Linked DNA regions of Homo sapiens: all the other regions are linked to region 4. Evidence: promoter capture Hi-C in 16 types of primary human blood cells and fetal thymus (Javierre and others, 2016). All regions are on one chromosome and are shown on one strand. Each heading gives the region's core, a stretch centred on a gene start or on the middle of the fragment in contact. The rest is flanking DNA. Distances are from core to core; before and after follow the strand shown. Region 1 has its middle 5.3 kb from the start of HSD17B4. Region 2 has its middle 82 kb from the start of TNFAIP8. Region 3 overlaps DMXL1-DT (DMXL1 divergent transcript). Region 4 holds the start of SRFBP1 (serum response factor binding protein 1). Region 5 overlaps DMXL1-DT (DMXL1 divergent transcript). Region 6 has its middle 1.6 kb from the start of DTWD2. Region 7 has its middle 26 kb from the start of TNFAIP8.

Region 1 (2,700 bases), core at 95-2,594, 2.5 Mb after region 4:
TAACTCACTGGACAGAGCAGTCAGACCTTGCAATGCCTTTGTTATACTTCCATTAGGGGCGGTATTGTTTGGGATGAAGGTACAACACTGAGTTTTAATCATGATGCAAACTCCTCCTCTTTCTGCTAATATCATGTCTCAGGCTATCCTATTTTCCCAAGCCATCTGGCTAGTAGCCCCTAATTGCTCAGCTATTCTTTTAACAGCATCTCTAGGGTAGTTAATAAATCGCTGTTGGTTGCAATAAATGTAGTTTATCAAACCTACATTTTTATTAATTGTAACTTACCAAAATACTGGCTGAAATCCTGCAGCTATTTGATTTTGGGCTTTAAATTGATCTGGTATTCCCAGTGGGACTCCAATTGCGTCTAAATAGACATGAGAGTTGAAAGACCCATAAGGGGCCTCTTTCACTTTACGATGTCTTATTTTTCCTTCCTCCAGTTGATGAAATGCCAGAGTAAAAGAGATAACCAATTGAATTAGACCATAAGTACTGCTCTAATTATTTGGCAGAGTGTCCAGTAAAGGTCCTCCCTAATACCACCATACAACCAGTCAGGGATGAATAAGGGCAGACTGTTGGGTCAGCTCTTGGAAGTGCCTGACTTCCCTGCATCCTGTTAAGTCTCCAGGGAATGCCAAATTTTTCCCCTTGTCATTGGAGACATGAGGTAAAATTGGCTTTGGAAGATGGAGGCTGGATGGCCCTTGGGGGCTGACCCACAGCGTGTTGAACTTCAGGAAATAGCAGAGAAAGAGCTTGGCACAATTTGTTATTCCAGGCGGTAGAATCTTGAAAAAGAGCTACCATGCACTCCATGTCCAGTTGATTTGAGGACCATCCCAGTGGAAAGGGAACAACCTGGGCCTCTGGCCTACTGTGCACACAACAGTAACAGTCGCTTTTGTTTCAAGTGCGAACGGAATATTTAATCCATTTTAACCAGGGATTTACATCTTTTTACTCTGTTTCAATGGCTATGGTTTGCCTTAGGTCTTCTATTTCTACTACTGAGACCTTGCTTTTGTCATTTGGCATGAGGCGAGGCATAGTTTGATTTCATAGGTTTGGGAAAGGGGCAGTTGTAGGAGGTGGAGGAGGGAGAACAAACCACATCTTAAAGAAACCTATAGGATCCTTTCCAGTGACCTCTACTCCTAAACCATAAAAATGCTCAAAAGTGGGGTTAGAGTTGCTAGTGGTAGGAATAGTAATGGCTATAGGCACTGGATTCAGAAAGGAAAGGAAAAGATAGATAGACTACACTTTTCTTAGCTTTAGTTTGGTAGGGCTTGATCCAGGAACAATGGCCCATGATTCTGATGATAACGGCGCTTACTTGACTCGGGTGTGATGTGTCCAACCCCCTTCCGCGGTACGAACAACAGTCTCAGTGGTTAGCAGCACTAGGTAGGGTCCTTCCCAGGCTGGCACAAATTTTCCTTCTTTCCACCCTTTGACAAGAATGTGATCCCCAGGCTGGTGCTGATTTACTGGAAATTCTAGGGGTGGTACCTGTGCTAAAAGACATTTAGTTTTGAGAGAAAGGAAAGTGGAAGATAAACCAAGTGTATAATTTCTGAGAAACTGATCTTTTGTTTTAAATTTGGGAACACCAGCAGTGGACTTTATAGTCCTTAGTGCCTCCCTGCTGAGAAATTTCCTTTGGCACCTATTTTTATTAGTTGTTAGACCAAAGAAACCCAAACACCCTTTTACATTTGACAATGCTTCCTGTATGATTTTATACCAGATAAGCTAAATTTTACCTTTATATTAGTGTGTTATTAATGTTAAACTTGATTTTAATAAAACCCTATAGACATAATTATCAAATTTTAATGTCTGACCATAAGGTAAGATTTCCATAGACTCTATTTAACCTTTTATAATTTTGTTAAAGAGCAGTTAGTGTTTTAAGAAAAACCCACTGTGCTTTTATTTTAACGTCCAGTCCACGGAAAAACTGCATGATACCCCTTTAACTTTAGCTAATATGTTTACACATAGAATTTCCTTTACAATTAACGTTTTAAAACTTGCTTAAACCTTTAAAACAAAATATTTTTAACCTTTTAATGTAGGTAAAAATCCACATTCTTATGCCTCCTTATAATCTTTTAACCAAAAGTATATTTTATTTTTCTTACACACCTTGCACATAAAGTGTTTCTTCAATAGTTTTACACTCAGGAAGCCTAATTACTATTAAATTATGCAACATTTCTTGCATAAATTCTCTTTTATAACTTTTTTTTCACGACTTTCACAGACAATTCCTCAACATGCCTCAACTTTCTGACTTGTTGCAAACATCCCTTTCTTTAAACAACCAGTTAATTTATTTTAGGACAAGAATTTACCATATAACTTTTTTTTTAATTTTGAACAATTTTTATTGCTTTCTTACCTTTATAGTGTTGCTATGGAAATGTCTGATAATAATCTGATAGTTATTCATCTTTACTGAGCAATTTTATCTCTGGAACATTTTATAATTTTCTCTTTGAAATGTTTATTATAATGTATTTAATGTGGGGTATTTACTTATCCATTCTTTCTTTTTTCTTTTTCTTCTTTTTGGGTGAAAAAGGGGGAGAAGAGTCAGGAGGCGGTTGGTAAGCCCGGCGACAAAAGTGGGAAAGAGGGAGGGAGTGGGAAGCCAAAAGCCTACATCACCCAGCATTCCCGGT
Region 2 (2,940 bases), core at 441-2,940, 2.7 Mb after region 4:
AGGGCAGCAAACCTGGGGGATGGCTGACTACAGAGGAAGGCAGAGGCCAGACCTGAATTAGTCAGTTTCATAACCTGTTATTCTCTGTTCAAATATTTAAATCTAGAGGGGAAAAAAAAAGCTGTCAATCTACTAAAATTAATACTATGTTATGATCAGTAGCAAACCTTTATTATTCTAATTTCCATGGCCCCTATTAGAATGATAAATTAAAAACTGACTAAAATTCAGAAAAAGGGAAGTCTCAAGTACTGGCAAAACCCAAAATGCAAAAGAAGCAGGAGGAAGTTACAGAACATGGCTTCAAAGAAAAAAATGGTCTGTTTTTCATTTTCTCATTTTCTACCATTACAAAATGAGAGGGACACTCTGAGAACAGAATAGATTCCTGGAGGTACCAGGACCTCAGGACAGGAAACAGGCCTGGGTTAGGGGAAACGGTCCGCTTGGCAACTCCGAGTCCTGAGTTGGGCCCGTGCTCTTCCAAACATGCGCCGCTGTTGAAATAAGGATGCCCATCCCAGTTCAGTATCTACAAACCACCTGAGTTATCCTTAAGTCAGCTGGCATACTGGATTTATGATGTCAGCATTGTTGGTGACTCAAGTCTAGATTTTCAACTAATGAACACTGGGCAGACTCTCCAATGTCTCTGTTTCATGGCCTTCAATTTCTGGATCTATTTGTGGGACACCACTAATTGTTTTGGTTGTTATTTTTTGTTCTTGACCTGGTTGCTTGTTAATATTTTTCCACCCAGTGAAGACCTATAAAAACAACTTTGTTATTTCTTAAGATGGGTACATAGGTGTTCATTTTATATGTTGTGTTTATTTTATATGTTGTGTTCATTTTAATCTTCTTTAAACTTTAAAGCCACTCTGTACTTTCAAGAGCTCTTTCCACTGCCAAAAAAAAAAAAAAAATTAAAAAAAAATCCCTACAGCTAGCTGCTGCCTGAATAAGCTTCTTTCTAGAACAAGACAGGAAAATGAGTCACATAAGTCTCCCAGGCTAGGGGTTCTCAATTTGCATCAAGCTTCACTGGTGATTCTGACTTAACAGTCAGGTTCACAGGAATAGTCCCAGATGAGCCCTAAAATACAGCACATTGGATAAGTTCAAAGTTTCATTTGGTGTATCACTTTTGTAGCTGCCCAGATAATGATGTTCTCAAACTACCCTACCTGGGCAGAGCTTCCCTGCCAGGGAGGTGATAAGCACCACAGGTACACAGGGCAGGGAATCCTTGCTTCCTCAGGAGGCTCCCTATTTACACAGGGTCTCTTACCTTGAAAAGTAATAGCAGCCTGTTCCTTCAGGCACTATCAGTCATTCCAGGTCATAAAAGCAAAGGAGCAAAGTGGCTACGTGTGTGCAAACAGAGGTCATCACCGGATGTTGGGAAGGCCTGAGTTCACTCACCTCTTCCAGGTATACCTCATGAGTCACTAGCAGCCTAATTCTGCCTCAAGGCAAAAGGAATTCCATCACTAAGTGAGGACTGCTCTGCCCTTCAAGTGTAGCAAAACAGTATTTAACCAAACACCTGCCATTTTCCAGAAAACAATCTCAACCCTTTAAAGAGTGAAGAAGGAAAAATAAAAGAGTAGTTTCCTGACCACAGAATGATGGAATGAGGTACTGGACTTACTTCCCAAAGATTTACGTGACCAAAGTTTGTTCTGAAACTTGCACTGTTGCCAACACTGTCCATGCATTTTTTTCTCAGAAGACTGGCATTTTTTTTCGTGTCTGCATGTGTGTGAGGGTCTGAACACAGTCAGAAGAGAGCTCAGGACAGGAAAGACGAGTGTAGTTAGGTCTACATAGCACACACCACAATCTCTGTCTCCCCTATTTTTGTTGACAGCCATGTTGTAAAACCAAACAAACAAACAAACAAAAAACCTCATTTTGTTAAACAAATGATAAATAAGAGTAATAAATAAGAGTTAGGAATGAGGAAGGCTTGAGCTAAATGAATTTGGGTTGAAGGAGTAAGAGCCAGGCTTAGAGAGGGTATTGACAGAGTGAGCTGTTGCTTACTTTTTGGCTCCTTTAAAATATCCAAGAGTCTACTGTGTGCCTTGCTGAGTACTGTGTTCCCAAAAGACCTTGCCCCGGTGCCTAATCCTGCAGATGCGGTCCCTGCCCTGGGCCTCCCGGACCTCACGCAACTTCCCCTGAAGACATGCCAGCCCGATTCCCTTTGCAACACCAAGGGCAGCTGTCTGTCTTAAATAATCTGGTTTCATTCACTACCTGTTTTAAACATGGGAGTTGTGAAAGGCCAACCCACTGCTCACAATTTAACTGTAATAGGTCTTTTGAAAGCTTCCCTCATGCAGAGAAGCTTAATGGGTACTATGGCTCGTCTTCGTTCTCAGGCACATAAAACTCGAATGCCCTGCTCTGGCTCACTTATCTTTGGCAGCAGCGGTGACATTTCCCTTATATAATCATGTGACCCTGCAGCTAGCAATCACTGAAGTTGTGCTACATTCACCCCATTCTCTGGGCTCCTCTGGCATTGTTAAAGGAAAAAAGAATTCATGCTAAAATCACATATGACACAAGTTACTACTTTCCCTCTCTACTCCACTGTGGCTCAGTACTAACACTTACTGGAATGAGACCTATTTGGCCAATCTAACTAAGTCCTCCACTTAATGGGTGCCTTCTGCACACTGATACAGGAGAGGAACATCTGGCTTAATCTGCACAACAATCCTATAATATAAATACTATCCCCAGTTTTTACTCTGGTGAAGAAACAGGCTCAGAGAGCTAAGTAGATTGTCCAAAGCCACACAGCCAGCAGGGGCTGAGACATGAGCTGCTGATTCCAGCAAAGTCATTTGGACCAACTACTTCTTGACTAAAGTCATCTTTATTCCCAATGTTTAAGGAAACTACAAGTGGAATTTTGAACTTAAT
Region 3 (2,865 bases), core at 258-2,757, 2.9 Mb after region 4:
TTCCACATTATGGATTATACTGTTTTAGAATAATTCTGGTTTAACTGAATATATGTATAGCGGAGTATGAATCTTTTCAATCTTCAATTATTAGTCTGTTTTATGTAATAGTTGTGGGTCACTGTGTGTGTTTTTAGTATAGGAGTAACTTTTTTTTTTTTTTAAGAGACAGAGTCTTGTTCTGTCGTGCATGCTGGCGTACAGTGCCACAATCACAGCTCACCGCAGCTTCCAACTTCTGGACTCACATGATCCTTCTGCCTCAGACTTCCAAGTACTTGGGACTACAGTCACGAATCACCACAGCCAGCTTGGAGTGACTTTCTAAGGGTAAATAACGAGTCAATTGAGACTGTAATTATATGACTTGGGGCAAAATTAACTGTGGTCAGCTGACTTGTTACCGTATTTAATTTTAATTTTGGAGCTTGTATTCAAAAGCTATTATATGAATATAAGAATAAATGATTTTTTTAACAAAAAAGAGTATTTTAGAAGAGAAACATGATATCTAGAAGAGAAACATTTCAACTTACTATTCTCTGGGCTTTTGTTAAACTACACTCACATCTCTCCTAAAATAAACAAAATCAATCATCCATCATACGCTCATATAATGGCATTTTCAGTGAATAGAGGTATTGTGCAGAACATGTCCCAAAATGTAAAATCTAAGATTTCCCATATGTGGCTGCCACAATAACTCCACTCATGCATTCTAACATCTAATAGTCTAACATTATTTCTATATTTAGTTTTTCTTTAAACTTCCTCTTTTTTTTTTTGTTTTTTTGGTAATTGCCACATCTGCTTTAGCAATTTTGTGATTTTTAAACTTCCTCCTGCAAAAAGGTTTTAAAAACATTTATGTTGCTTGTATAATATAACCATTATCTCTTTGGAAACTTGGAAAAATATAGTAAAATTAGTGGGAAATGGAATTATAAGCATTCTTTTTTTTTTCTTTTGATGGAGTCTCACTCTGTCGCCCAGGCTGGAGTGCAGTGGCACAATCTCAGTTCATTGCAACCTCCGCCTCCCGGGTTCAAGTGATTCTCCTGCCTCAGCCTCCTGAGTAGCTGGGATTACAGGTGTGCGCCAGCACACCTGACTAATTTTTGTATTTTTAGTAGAGAAGGAGTTTCGCCATGTTGGCCAGGCTTGTCTTGAACTCCAGACCTCAGGTGATCCACCTACCTCAGCTTCCCAAAGTGCTGGGATTACAGGTATGAGCCACCGCCCTTGGCCCAAGCATTCTTTCTTTTTCTTTTTCGTTTTCTTTTCTTTTCTTTTTTTTTTTTTGAGATGGAGTTTCACTCTTGATGCCCAGGCTGGAGTGCAATGGCTCACTGCAACCTCCGCCTCTGGGGTTCAAGCGATTCTCCTGCCTCAGCCTCCCGAGAAGCTGGGATTACAGGCATGTGCCACCACGCCCGGCTAATTTTGTATTTTTAGTAGAGACGAAATTTCTCATGTTGGTCAGGCTGGTCTTGAACTCCCAACCTCAGGTGATCCACCCATCTCGGCCTCCCAAAGTGCTGGGAATGCCAGGTATATTTTCCCCATAGTTTTAGCTCAAGGTATTACATAGTTATTGCCAAAAAAAAACAATGGTAAACATCTATAGCTGAGTCGTCCGTGAATATTTAATGGATTAGTTAAGAAATAGTGACTCAGGAAATATAAACTTTAATCTTAGCTATTTCTGATGTAATGTCATGTCAGTCATTCTTTTTACTCTACGTTATTTTGATTTTGTACCTCATAAAATTTGGGAAACTGCTAGTAAATAACTACACTCAACAATGTGGGAAGGATGAAAGAGGCTTTATGATGTCACAGAAAGAGCAGTTGGCCAGGAATTAGAAGATCTGGCTTCTAAATATAGTCTTTTCACTTAAAATTGCCATGTTACTTTAGGCAAGCCATTTCATTTTTCAGAGGCTGTCATTTTCTTCATCTATCAGATACAGATGATAATACATATCTTATTTATATTTTAAGGCTGTAGGGAAGTACAAAATTAAATAGTGTTGGTAAAAGGACTTTACAAATTGCAAAGTTATAATTTCAGAAATAACACCAGGGCTTTGCTATAGTACCATTTGCTACAGCATGGAATTCAACATAATGCTGCTCTATTTCAGACTATTGAAAGGGGTACGTCAGTGGCAAGGCTATATCATATTCATATTTGCAGGAATTTCTAGGTTGGTATAATGAAATTCAAAGGATATTTATTTTAGAATTCTGACTCATTTCTGTTAACTCATACATATACTATTTCAATGATTTACTTTTGTTTTGAGAATTACTTGATTTTCCCCTATTTGTTCTCCATTCCTTTGTCCACCAACTCCCACCCCCACAAACAGTAAACTAAAAACAGACGTTCTTCTTTTTCTTTTATGAGACAGGGTCTCACTCTATCACCCAGGCTGGAGTATGGTGGCACAATCTTGGCTTATTGCAGCCTCGACCTCCTAGGCTCAAGCAATCCTCCTGCCTCAGCCTCCTGAGTAGCTGGTACAACAGGTGTGAGCCACCGCGCCCAGCTTATTTTTTAGTTTTTGTAGAGACAGGGTTTTGCTGAGTTGCCCAGGCTAGTCTCGAACTCCCAGCCTCAAGTGACCCTCCTCCATCACCTCCCAAAGTCCTGGGATTACAGGCAGGCACCGCCACACCCGGCTCTGAAAACAGATGTTTATAGAAGAACCAATGGTCATTTTTGTGTTCCAGATCTGTTAGAAGTTTACAGTACAATCAAAGGGATTTGAAAAGATCTCATGGAGCTATTCTAGCTTTAGTAAAGCCTATATATAGGAAAATGATGGCTCATTTTATTTGCTGCCCTTCTGAAATCAG
Region 4 (2,700 bases), core at 96-2,595:
TTCAGCTTCCCTCTTCAGCATATCCTGTACTCCACTGTCAACTGAAATCCTGACTCGTTAATCTGGCAGCAGAGAATATATTTCAGTTTTATTTCCTTCTTCATCTCACAAGTTCCCATCAGTGAAGAGTTACTTATCCCTGTATTACCCACGGGTTCTTCTGCTACTAGCCCTTTCCTGCTTATACCAGTCCCTCTGCCTGGAATGACTTCTTCCCCTTTCCTGAATCACTGACTGCAATTCCTGTGCAAGATCCCTAAAGACCAAGGACAAGTATCACCCATTTCATTTTGCCGCCTTTGGAAACTTTTCTGCATTACTAGGTTTTGGAGGCATTCTTCACACATTGTTCTGTAACACAGGTGAGTGTTGCTTAGCTCTCTTACTTGAGTATAGGTTACTAGAAAATATGAAATATCCCTTACACTACTGTGTGTAATCTAAACAGTGACTTGCTCATAAACGGGATAAAGAATTTCCTTTCTGTATCTAACTGTGAGGTCCTTACTCGATCCTTATGTTTCCAGCTTACTTTAAGACTTTGGATGACATTATTTTGTTGAATAGAAGCAGAAACCAGAGGGGGATAAGTGGTAGAAATGGTATTTTGTCGACACCGCACACTATGGAAGTGACGGTGGTGAGAACAAATGTCTGATGAGAATGGACTGAAAAAGCAGAAAAAAGAATTGAGGATAGCAAGTATAAACAGCTCTTTATTGAAGTTCTGCTGTAAACGGAAGCAAAGAAATAGGACACTAACTGGAAGAGGAAACGAAGTACTGAGCATACAGTCTCATTCAAGACCACCAATTTCTTAGAAGCTACAGCTCTTACTTTCTCTCTTTCATTTTCGACAGGCAATAAAGAGCAGGTAATGTGTACTGAAAGTTTATTAAGGGTCAGGCACTTGCAAATACTTTACGTATCTCAGTTAATCTCACAACCCTGGGACGAACTATCTTGAGTTCCGCTTTACAGACGAGAATATTGAACGTACAGGCTAAAGGTTCTTCCCAAAGTCCCACAGACATAAATTCGTGGGGCCTGACACATGTCTCTCACTTTAGTCACCTGGAGACCGAAAAGGGAAATTACCGGTTGCCAAACTCCAAGTTGCGGGAAACCCGCCTGGGCCCACCACGAAAGTTCCTCCAACCGCACCCTCTATGCCCGCCTCCGACCACGCGTCTCAAAAGAGCTGGTTTTGAGGACCCTTAAAGTCAGCCCCATAGGTTCCTCGGCGCTCACCTCGTTATTGAGGTTCAGAGTTCCCGGCTGAGCCATGGTAGATGAAGGAATATGATCCGCCGCTGCCTGCACGTGAACCGGTCTCTCAGACCGCGGCTGCGTCGCCACGCCCCTCAACGGAAGCCTCTTCTGTCCAAAACTCATCCGCCTTCTGCTCTAGCTGCCGCCTGGGAACAAGAAACATTGACGCTTGGAAGGGAAAACCGGAACTGAGACAGAACAACTACCGGCGCAGAGGGCTACGCAACGGAATTGCGCGTTCCTATGGAAACCAGACGGGGGCTGGTAGCTGGGCAACGTCTAGTTTTTCAAGATTCGGTTTGTGTGTGTGTGTGTGTGTGTGTGTGTGTGTGTGTGTGTGTGTGTGTGTTCCCTTGGTACACTGCGCTCGCATTGTACCGGCCTTGGTTTTTCTCTCTAATGGCTAGGGGGGCGCTGAACGGCGGTGAAAGAGCTCTTCTGAAATGATCACTTGAATGAACGATTTTTTGCTTCCATTTTTTTAAATCTAGTATTTGTGAAGATTTCTGCTTTTCTAACAAGCACACCTTTTTAAATCCTCGCAGTTTTTTGTTACAACCTGACATTATAGCTGAGGTGCGGACATTTTTTTCCTGCACACTATAGAAGGGTTTAAATTTAGGGAATAAACATTTGAAGCAAAACCAGGATACACATTTGGTACTGCCTGTGGGAATGGCTGTTTATTAGCCGGCAAGCATAGGAGACGTAAGGGAGTGTGTTTGAATTAGGTAATATATAATTGTCAACACCTTCTAGTATTGACCATTAAAATGTGTCAAATGGTGGTCCAAGAGCTTTACATAAATTAGCTCCAAATCTCCACAGAAATCCAACAAGATAGAAATTATTTTCCTTTTATTAATATTATTTTGTTAGAGACCCAGTCTCTCTTTGTCATCCAGGCTGGTGTGCAGTGGCACAGTCATAGCTCACTGCAGCCTCAAACTCTTGGGCTCAAGCCATCCTCTCACCTCAGCCTTCCAAATAACTAGGACTACAGGAGTGAGCCACCCTACTCTGCTCTGAACTATTATTTTACAGATGTGGAAAGTGACTTCAGAGGCACCAAGTGCCTCGCCCAGAGTCACTTGCCTGGGACTGTCCACTGCTACAGGACTTCAAGTCCAGCTACATAATACCTGGGGTACAGTGCAAAATGAAAATCCAGGCCCCTTTATTCAAAATGCAGGAAAAACGTTTCTTCCGGCGGAGGGTGGTGGCTCATGCCTGTAATCCCAGTACTTTAGGAAGCCTAGGCGGGCGGATCACCTGAGGTCGGGAGTTCGAGACCAGCCTGACCAACGTGGAGAAACCCCGTCTCTACTAAAAATACAAAATTAGCCGACCGTGGTGACGCATGCTTGTAATCCCAGCTACTCGGGAGGCTGAGGCAGGAGAATCACTTGAACCTGGGAGGCGGAGGTT
Region 5 (2,917 bases), core at 402-2,901, 2.9 Mb after region 4:
CTGTCACTGAAATTGCTACAAATGCAAATATCCACAATACCTTTCCCTGTATTCTAGAAGAACACTTCCATATTCTCTGTGCAGAGGCTTTTGGTTATAATTCCTGGATTTAAAGCATCCAAAGAGAGAAAGCTCCAGGTTTGCACATACTGCTTTAATTAAACAATAATGGATTTTTAGTAAGTAGGGTCTTTTGCTCTCTAAATCTAAAGAACTAAAGGTAGATAAAAGAAACATCTTTTGCTGTAAGTGAAAAAGTAATTTTTGCTCTACTATATATATATTTCTGGGAAGAAAAAAAATCTCACCCTCAAGCTTGTGTTCTTTAAAATGAAATATTTTGACCAAGCAGAGTGGCCCATGCCTATAATCCCAGCAATTTGGAAGGGCAAGGCAGGATAGCTTGAGACCAGGAGTTCAAGACCAGCCTGGGCAACATAGAGAGAGACCTCATCTCTATTTTTAAAAAACGAAATGTTAAAATATATGATGGTAGTTTTACATATTTCTAATTTTTTATTATAGATAATGCAGTCTGGTGTCTGACATATTACATTTGTTTGCTTAATATTTTTTCTAGAAAAGGTTTTTATCCTGGAAAAAAAAGAGGGAAAACATTTTGAAGATTTCTTTTAGAAAAGTAATGGAAGCTGGGCGCGGTGGCTCATACCTGTAATCCCAGCACTTTGGGAGGCCAAGGTGGGTGGATCACCTGAGGTCAGGAATTTGAGACCAGCCTAGCCAACATGGTGAAACCCTGTCTCTACTAAAAATACAAAAATTAGCAGGGCATGGTGCAGGCACCTGTAATCCCAGTTACTCTGGAGGCTGAGGCAGGAGAATCACTTGAATCCGGGAGGCAGAGGTTGCAGTGAGCCAAGATCGTGCCATTCCACTCCAGCCTGGGCAACAGGAGTGAAACTCCATCTCAAAAAAAAAAAAAAAAAAAGAGAGAGAAAAGAAAAGTAGTAGTGGAAACTAGCCACTAATTAGCAGGGTTGGATGACTAAGGAAATGGTATTTTACTAATGTAGTAAGATAGGGAGAAAATAGTAGGATAAGCCATTTTGGGTAGGTAAGGCTAAGACTAATTTCAGCATTAGAAGTTGAAGTAATCATGGGGCGTCTATTACAGAAGATAGTTGGGAAGATGGGATTGGGGCTCAGGAATGCTGTCAGAGCAGGTAATACAAAACCAAGAGCTATCTTCTGTCAAGAGTTTAGCGTCATGAATGGAGGAGATTTCCAAGGGAGAAGGTGAAGAAAGTGGAGTAGAGAACTGAGAACTAAAGCTTAGTGACTACCCAATATTAGTAGTCAAGGGTTCAACTCTTCTAACGCAGTCAGGTGGATGGGAGGGGCATTGAGGAATAATGATTTTAGGAAGTGCCTGGGGGGGGGAAAAGGTTGCTGCTCAGAGAGTAAAAAGAATTGAAGTCTAAGAGAACATCGGATTTAGGATTTTAGAAAGTCATTAGTGACTGTCAGAAATGTACTTTGGTAAAGTGGAGGTTATCAATGTTAGATTAGATGATGAAGACATAAGGAGACCTTCACTGTGTAAATTGTCTTTGCCCTTTTACTTACTTTTTGCCCTTTTCTCAAGCGGGTTCCTGAAATAAGAAATCTATGAAGAAAATGACAAGACTCTGAAGAATTAGCTTGCCATGAGGGACTCAATCGGAGGCTTGAATCTGACCTGGAGACTGAGAACTCTTGAATAGATGAAGATAGTATCTTTCTTTTCCTTTCCTTCAATCTTTCTTTTTAAATATATTTGTTTGGTTGTTTTTTAGAGACTAAGAAGTTTTTAAATTGCCCTAATATCTACAAGGCTCTCACAGGGAAAGGTGCTGACTGGAGAATACCTACACTACAATAGATAAAAAGGCAGTGGCTTCCTAGGCTGCAGAGAACAAGTCCTTTCTAGCAGTGGCTCAGGACTACTGTTTTGAAAAGTCTAATTACTTTGCTTCTCTGACCTTGATTGCTACCTTTAAAAGAAGCTTTAAAGCCTGTTTGGTCTCCTAAACTTGCCAAGCCCTGCTGCCTGGGTCTAGTCAGTAATCTTGCCCTGCACAGACCTCTTACTGTCTGACCACAGGCCTTAGCTAACCCCATTTGTGTCACACCCCACTGCTATGCCTCCTTTGGAAAGGCCTATCTAAGAAGTAGCTCCTTATATAAATGGAAGGACACTAAAGACTCCTGATGGAGTAAACACAGAGGAGATAAGGAATCAAGGGTGGAGGGATTGGTCTTGGACATGGTAAATGTAGAGATAGAGACTATCTAGTCAGAAAGGTTAAACTTGATAGTCTTCATTCTACAAAGTAGGATGCAAATTCTTTTCAAAGAGGAACTGTGAATTGTATAGTATGTGAATTATCTTTCAATAAAGCTATTTTTAAACAGCAGAGAATGTAAGAGATGGACTAGAATTAGGAAAGTATTGGGTTTAAAAGTCACATTCATATTACGATGGCAATTCCTGGTTATGGATCTCTTTAATGATGTTTCTATACAGAGTGAATGTAGTAGTCTGTATGTTTCTCTCTTCCTTTTTAATTGAAATATTAGATTGCTCCAAAGGTTTCCATACAACCTGTTCAACTTTCTAGCAGTCATTCCAGAAAGGGAACAAATGAAGTGTAACCATATATTTACTAATCAACAAATGCAAACATGATGGCTATATTAAATATTCAAATGCATAAATAATATTTATATTATATGTGTTAGGCTGTACATAACAGACTAGGCAACTAGCAGTGGCTTAAATAAAAAATATTTATTATTAAATATATATTATTATAATATGTTATTATTAAATATATATTTTATAAATATTTATTATTAGGTTGTAGCATGTGCCTATATTCCCAGCTATGTATGCCAGAGGAGGCTGAGGCAGGAG
Region 6 (2,700 bases), core at 201-2,700, 3.0 Mb after region 4:
TGCAGTGAGCCGAGATTGCGCCACTGCAGTCCGCAGTCCGACCTGGGCAACAGAGCGAGACTCCGTCTCAAAAAAAAAAAAAAAAAAAAAAAAAAAAGAACTGGCCTGACATGGTGGCACGCAGCCTGTAGTCCCAGCTACTCGGGAGGCTGAGGCAGAATTGCTTGAACCCGGGAGGCGGAGGTCGCAGTGAGCCCAGATCACGCCACTACTCTCCAGCCTGGGCGGCAGAGCGAGACTCCATCTCAAAAAAAAAAAAAAAAACAAAGGAAAAAGCCACTAAATTTGTGGTTATTAGTTCCACAGTGATAGAAAATGAATATAGCAAAAAATACCATGTTTTTATTTCATTTAAATCAAATCTTATACAATGCTGAATCCTCATACTGCAGGCCTGGCAGGATATTCAATCCCTTACATTACTGAGGCCCTTTCCTCTACCAGTAACAGGATCTCCTTTTCCCACAACACCAGGCGTGGACCTAAGATTGTCCTCAGTCTTTACTACCCAAACTCCTCTGAGGCAAAGGAGCATAAAAGTCTGGTTTTCTACCTGAAGTTGGGAGATAAACAAAACATACATTAACACCTCAATACATTATCTTGACACTAGTAAGTTGTCTGTATCCCATAAAGGATATTTTACTTCCCTTTCTGGTGTCTTGGCACTTCCCAGAAGCTGAGTCACTGATGGTCTGATACCTGGGTCTGCCCCAAGGTGGTAACCTCACCTGCATGTTTCCTCAGGCGTCTGAAGGTCATTGTTCACAAACCTGGATATTGGGTGAATTTCTTGCTTCCTATAGAGGAAAATGGCTCTCCTTTCTCAACTCTGTGTCTTGCCTGGATGGAAGCTTTCTTTGATTTTGGTCAGCCTCTGAGACAATGGACTTGTAGGGGATTTTCTTCATAAGGAGCGGAGATGGAGCAGGAGACCACTTAGGTCTTTGGCAATATTCTATGCAAGAGATGACGGGGGCTTGAACCAGGGCAGAAGTAGTAGGTGAGATAAATGTTTGGATTTTGAATACTTTGAAGGGTAAAGCCAATAATCTGATATGGGGTGTTAAAAGGAAGCCCCAAGTAAGTAGGCTCACATCAACCTAAAAGGAAGGAGCAGAGGCAAAATTAATATAGAGAGTTTATTTGGGCCAACGTTGAGGACTGTAGCCTAGGTCGTACTTCCAGGTTGCTGTGGAGAGTGCTCTGGAGAACAAAATGGGCTGGAGTTTTTAAAGAAAAGAGAACGAATCAGCAGAGGGGGGCATTACAAAAGCTATGTCTCAGGAAGTGTCATTTATTTACAGAAATAACATTGGTTAGTGATTGGCTATACATATTGTTGAACTATAGGGTATACGGCGTTTTATGGCTACTCGGTGTCAGTCTAGGGCCTGCATAGCAAGTGCCTTCAAGAGGTAATTATTTAGCTCAAGGGAGAGTGAGACATGACTGCTCGCATTCCTTAGATAAAAAGTTTTTTTTTTTTTCCTTATCATCTGTCTTCTCACACCACACAATTGGGAGTCTCAAGGGACCTTAGAGGACTTGAGCACATTTCACCTCTTGAAATTAAAGATGAGCAGCTTCCTTTCGTTTAAAGATAAGTCACATGAGAATTTAATTTTGGCAGTTAAAGAATTGGTTCCCCAACCTAAATCTACAGACAAGATGAATTTTCTGATTCATCTCCTTTCCTACAGTTTCTGGATTTTGTTTATCCTCCGATTCCAAATGGCATAATTGCTAGTTCTTTCTCCCACTCTACGTCCATCACCAGGTGGGTGTTTCAGCCTTTTTCTATCCCTCACATAGGACGCTCCAAAGGAAAAGAGAGGTGCTGTTTCCGGGGGGAAAGAACGTAGGATAGTTGAAAACAGCACGGTATTTTATTCACAAACTTGATTTTAAGATGACTGAAAAATCTAATGTGAAATAAACATTTTAAGAAATACAGTATTTGCTCTATTACTGTGTTGTCTACTTTGCCTCACATTTAATCTATTACAACTATAGAGTTAAGACAACTGTGATTCCTAAGCTTAATTCACATGATTGATCAAAACCAAGCTTAATTCTGTTTTAATGTTGTGTATTGCTGGAAGTAACACAAAGCATTAATAAACAAAAGGAATTCGATACCCATTTTGGGTAAATAGTATTTCTGCCTTCATTCTAACATAGATTTCATTTTGGCTTTTAAAAAACAGCTGCTGTGCTATATACCGCCGTATCCAGTAGTTGTTAAATACCTGGGCAACGTTACCTTTCTAGGGCTTGTTTCCTCATACATAAAACCTATTGGTACCCCGGGCCAGCTCTCCTATTGCTTCCTGATCGGGGACGATCTAAAAATCTAATTTAACAAATATCTGGTGTCCAGTGTAAAATAGCATGCTTGATGTCTTATTAGCACAAGACATAGAAGAGCAGGAAATTCACATAAGGAAACGGACCAGCTGTGAGTAGTTCCCAGTGGATATAACCTCTCCTTTGTTGGCCTTTAAATAATAAGTGCATCAGCTGCCGCACCTGCGATGCATGCACGCGTGGAAATCCTGCAAATTCTTAAACTGCCATCCCAAGGCGGAAAATGCAGAATTCCATTTTATTTTAACTTTTAAAGGAGTTAAATTCGGGCTTGGTACTGGGGTCCTCTCGGGGAGGTTTCCCTTACCTCTCCCAATGACGCTACTTAAC
Region 7 (2,765 bases), core at 53-2,552, 2.6 Mb after region 4:
AACTCCTGGTTTTGGAGAGAGCTCTCCAAAAACAGGAGAACAAAAAGCAAAGCATCTGCACAGACATTTCCCTAAGACACTCCTTTTCTCTCACTTGAGACTAGAATGCCCAAGATATCCCCGGATCTATTCAAAGTGTGCTGTTTAAACCAGTCCCAGCAGTTAGCATCCTGCTTATCCTACTTGATTTGGGAACAAAGAAGAGTCATCACAGACATAGGCTAGAGAGCAGGGAGATTCTCAAGTAAGTATTTGTGAAGCAGTCAAACCTTACAGAATAGCCTTATGTTTAAAAAAAAAAAAAAAAGCTAATATCTCTTTGTAGATATGACTATGCACAGCACTTCCATGCTTCCCTAGGACTTGTGAATTAAGACACTCTAGGTAGGTTCAGGGATCAACATTGTGATGATTGCCCAATGTGGATGCATCACCCATGCTTCAAGGCAAGGAGGAGAGTGGAGGCAGCCAGGACTTCCAGCCCTAGGAGCCCTGCCTGGTGGCCTAGTGGCTGAAGAATCTGTCCAGGCCTAGCTTCGTGAAAGCAATTTGTGCTCAGGAATATAGTTGGCTCTTGGCCTTTTTCTTGGTGGGCACAACTCTGCAGCAGAAGCGCAGGGCTAATCTGTACCCTAACCCCTAACCCCCAGCCCCTGAGAGTGCAACTGGCATTGGCAGTCATGGAGGTAGCCTGGAGTGTCACAGTAATACCAAATAAGCTGTCATTAGGGAAGTCTGCGGCCACCTTATCTGGTACTTCTTCTCTATCTCTCTGCAAACACATGATGGTGGCCATGAGAAAATGAGATCCTTCCCTTCCGTGTGTGTGTACTCCACGTTATCTCGGCATCTCAGAGCAAGAGACTATCACTTACATCATTTCACTCTCCCCACACCCTGCGAAAGTGGGTGGCAATCCCAGTTTCCAAAGCGAGTGTCAGAGCAGAGAGGTTAAGCAGCATATTCAGCAGGACCCTGCACAATAGGACAGGGCTGAGAGGAGAGGCCATGAGGCCTAACCCCTACCCTCCCAGAACAATCTCTAGACACACATGCTCTCGCTGGCCTAGTTTCATCAACTGCTTATCACATACCCCAAGAAAAATATTTCCTTTATAGCTACCCACATCCTTATCAGAAGCACATTCAACAAAATCATCAAAAGAGTGATGACATTTGTGTCTGCATAAAAAGATACTTTCATTTGTTTATTTCATCTAATTCTACAGCCTCAGACAGAACTGGAAATGTCTACAAAACACCTTGGCCTTTATGCTTTGGCATTCCCAGGACGTTCCCTAATCCCTAGTGCTTAATGCCATGGCTGCCAAGATTAATTTCATTTTCTTTCTGTTCAACCTTCCTCTCTTCCCATCAGTCCTCTCTGTACCCTCCTCGTATGCTGAATCCTGCCCATGCTAACTCTTTCAATGGCGTGCCTAAACCATGGCGCTAATTATAGCTTCCCCCTCCTCTATTCAACTTACTCCTCTTTGTCTCTCTCCTCTTCTTCAAAGAGGAAAGAGTCATTGGTGAAGCAGGGAGGAAGGCAGGCTGAGAAGGAATTATTCCAGGAGACTCAGGGACTGAGATAAACAATATGCTCAGAAGCGTTTTCCAGATGGCCTAACAGAGACGGCGGATGGTCAGACTCACTTCTCACATAAAGGAGGCCTTGCACAGCACAGGATTTCCCCAAACCTTGTCTGGACATGGACTTGCATGGTCCATGTCTAGACAAGGCTGGGGAAATCCTGCTGCTAAGCACCTGGAGATGTCCACAGTGTGCATGGTGCTCTCACTGTGGTCCACTCACTCCTCGCCAAAACCCTGGGAGGTGGGCGTCATTATCCTCGGATTACAGGTGTGGAAACCCAGCTCCATAAAGTTAACATATCTGTTCAGCAGAATGCTGGGATATGAGCCTACATCTGCTGGCTTTTTTCTCTTCATATCATATCGCAAAAGCATCCATGATTCACCAGACAGAAAGCACAAAAAGCAAACTGTGTGGAAAATAGGAAGAACACCTTTCTATTTAACAGAAAGGCAAAAGACCTCACAAGGCCAGGTAGAGTAGTGAGTTAAGCAGTGTGAACAGCTGCTGCTGAGGGCCAGCACAGGGGCAGAGACTGCTCAGGTCTGTCATCACCACAGCTGCCATTCACGTTGCCTGCCCAAATGGGTTGCACAAAAGGTAAGTGTGGGAAGGTAGGCCTTTTTATCATGTAGTACTTGTTTCTATGTTTTAAGTATAAATTGTGTAAAAATGTTGTTAGAAGCAAAAAAAGAAGACTATCTTCTAATTTCTCTTAGAATCAGATAACTTGGGTGTTGGCAAGACCGCTGATACCATCTAACCTCATTTCACAAGCGAGGAAAACAGGGCCATCCAAGGAGGCTGAAAGGCACGCCCAGAATCCCACCACTAGCTGTGAGCAGCACAGCTGCGGCACTCGCTGGGTCCTAGGCCTGCAGAATGAGCATCTACGTCTGTCTTCCTATGATTCATGCTCAAGTCTCTCTTCACACTTGCAGCACCAATGAAAACACTAAATCAGCATTTAGAAAGCAAAGAAACACCGAGTGCTGGCTGCAATAAATATGCTGGCACTTGAATGTGGTTTATTCTCTACTGAACTGAATATAAACAGAGGCCTGACATTTTATAGCATTCTTCCATTGCAAAACCTCATGTAAAACTGAACATGATCCCTCGTAATAAAATACTAAACTAATTAAACTCTCAATTTGCCAAGAAAAAC

Evidence for each region. The method cuts DNA at HindIII sites, captures the fragments that hold promoters and counts their contacts. A CHiCAGO score of 5 or more calls a contact.
Region 1: a contact is called between a fragment that was not itself captured here and the fragment with the promoter of SRFBP1 in region 4, in 1 of 17 cell types (naive CD8 T cells). The highest score is 8.8, in naive CD8 T cells.
Region 2: a contact is called between a fragment that was not itself captured here and the fragment with the promoter of SRFBP1 in region 4, in 1 of 17 cell types (monocytes). The highest score is 9.2, in monocytes.
Region 3: a fragment that was not itself captured here is called in contact with the fragment with the promoter of SRFBP1 in region 4 in 1 of 17 cell types (monocytes); the score reaches 7.7 in monocytes.
Region 5: a contact is called between a fragment that was not itself captured here and the fragment with the promoter of SRFBP1 in region 4, in 1 of 17 cell types (non-activated CD4 T cells). The highest score is 6.5, in non-activated CD4 T cells.
Region 6: a contact is called between a fragment that was not itself captured here and the fragment with the promoter of SRFBP1 in region 4, in 8 of 17 cell types (total CD8 T cells, non-activated CD4 T cells, naive CD8 T cells and 5 more). The highest score is 13.8, in total CD8 T cells.
Region 7: a fragment that was not itself captured here is called in contact with the fragment with the promoter of SRFBP1 in region 4 in 1 of 17 cell types (fetal thymus); the score reaches 6.3 in fetal thymus.

What each region holds. Positions count from the first base shown.
Region 1 is chr5:119,445,808-119,448,507 of GRCh38, reverse strand. It overlaps the pseudogene RNA5SP190. Among named protein-coding and RNA genes, the nearest start is that of HSD17B4, 5.3 kb to the left of the region's middle. The HindIII fragment of the contact is 3,139 bases long and covers 1-2,700 here.
Region 2 is chr5:119,273,000-119,275,939 of GRCh38, reverse strand. It overlaps a transcript of TNFAIP8 not described here. Among named protein-coding and RNA genes, the nearest start is that of TNFAIP8, 82 kb to the left of the region's middle. RefSeq lists enhancers at 1,109-1,158, 1,581-2,080, 2,155-2,204, 2,325-2,414. The HindIII fragment of the contact is 1,298 bases long and covers 1,042-2,339 here.
Region 3 is chr5:119,017,542-119,020,406 of GRCh38, reverse strand. DMXL1-DT (DMXL1 divergent transcript) reads left to right here. Exons shown (of 3, transcript NR_134250.1): 2 at 167-330. Among named protein-coding and RNA genes, the nearest start is that of DTWD2, 30 kb to the right of the region's middle. The HindIII fragment of the contact is 4,389 bases long and covers 1-2,865 here.
Region 4 is chr5:121,960,620-121,963,319 of GRCh38, reverse strand. It overlaps SRFBP1 (serum response factor binding protein 1), which reads right to left and starts at 1,345. Exons shown (of 8, transcript NM_152546.3): 1 at 1,252-1,345. The coding sequence starts at 1,287. RefSeq lists enhancers at 1,360-1,409, 1,154-1,692. The HindIII fragment of the contact is 3,156 bases long and covers 1-2,700 here.
Region 5 is chr5:119,059,224-119,062,140 of GRCh38, reverse strand. All of the region lies in intron 1 of DMXL1-DT (DMXL1 divergent transcript), which reads left to right. Among named protein-coding and RNA genes, the nearest start is that of DMXL1-DT, 10 kb to the left of the region's middle. The HindIII fragment of the contact is 714 bases long and covers 1,295-2,008 here.
Region 6 is chr5:118,988,761-118,991,460 of GRCh38, reverse strand. No RefSeq gene overlaps it. Among named protein-coding and RNA genes, the nearest start is that of DTWD2, 1.6 kb to the right of the region's middle. The HindIII fragment of the contact is 1,187 bases long and covers 857-2,043 here.
Region 7 is chr5:119,328,777-119,331,541 of GRCh38, reverse strand. It overlaps a transcript of TNFAIP8 not described here. Among named protein-coding and RNA genes, the nearest start is that of TNFAIP8, 26 kb to the left of the region's middle. RefSeq lists enhancers at 2,185-2,234, 1,959-2,646. The HindIII fragment of the contact is 4,578 bases long and covers 1-2,765 here.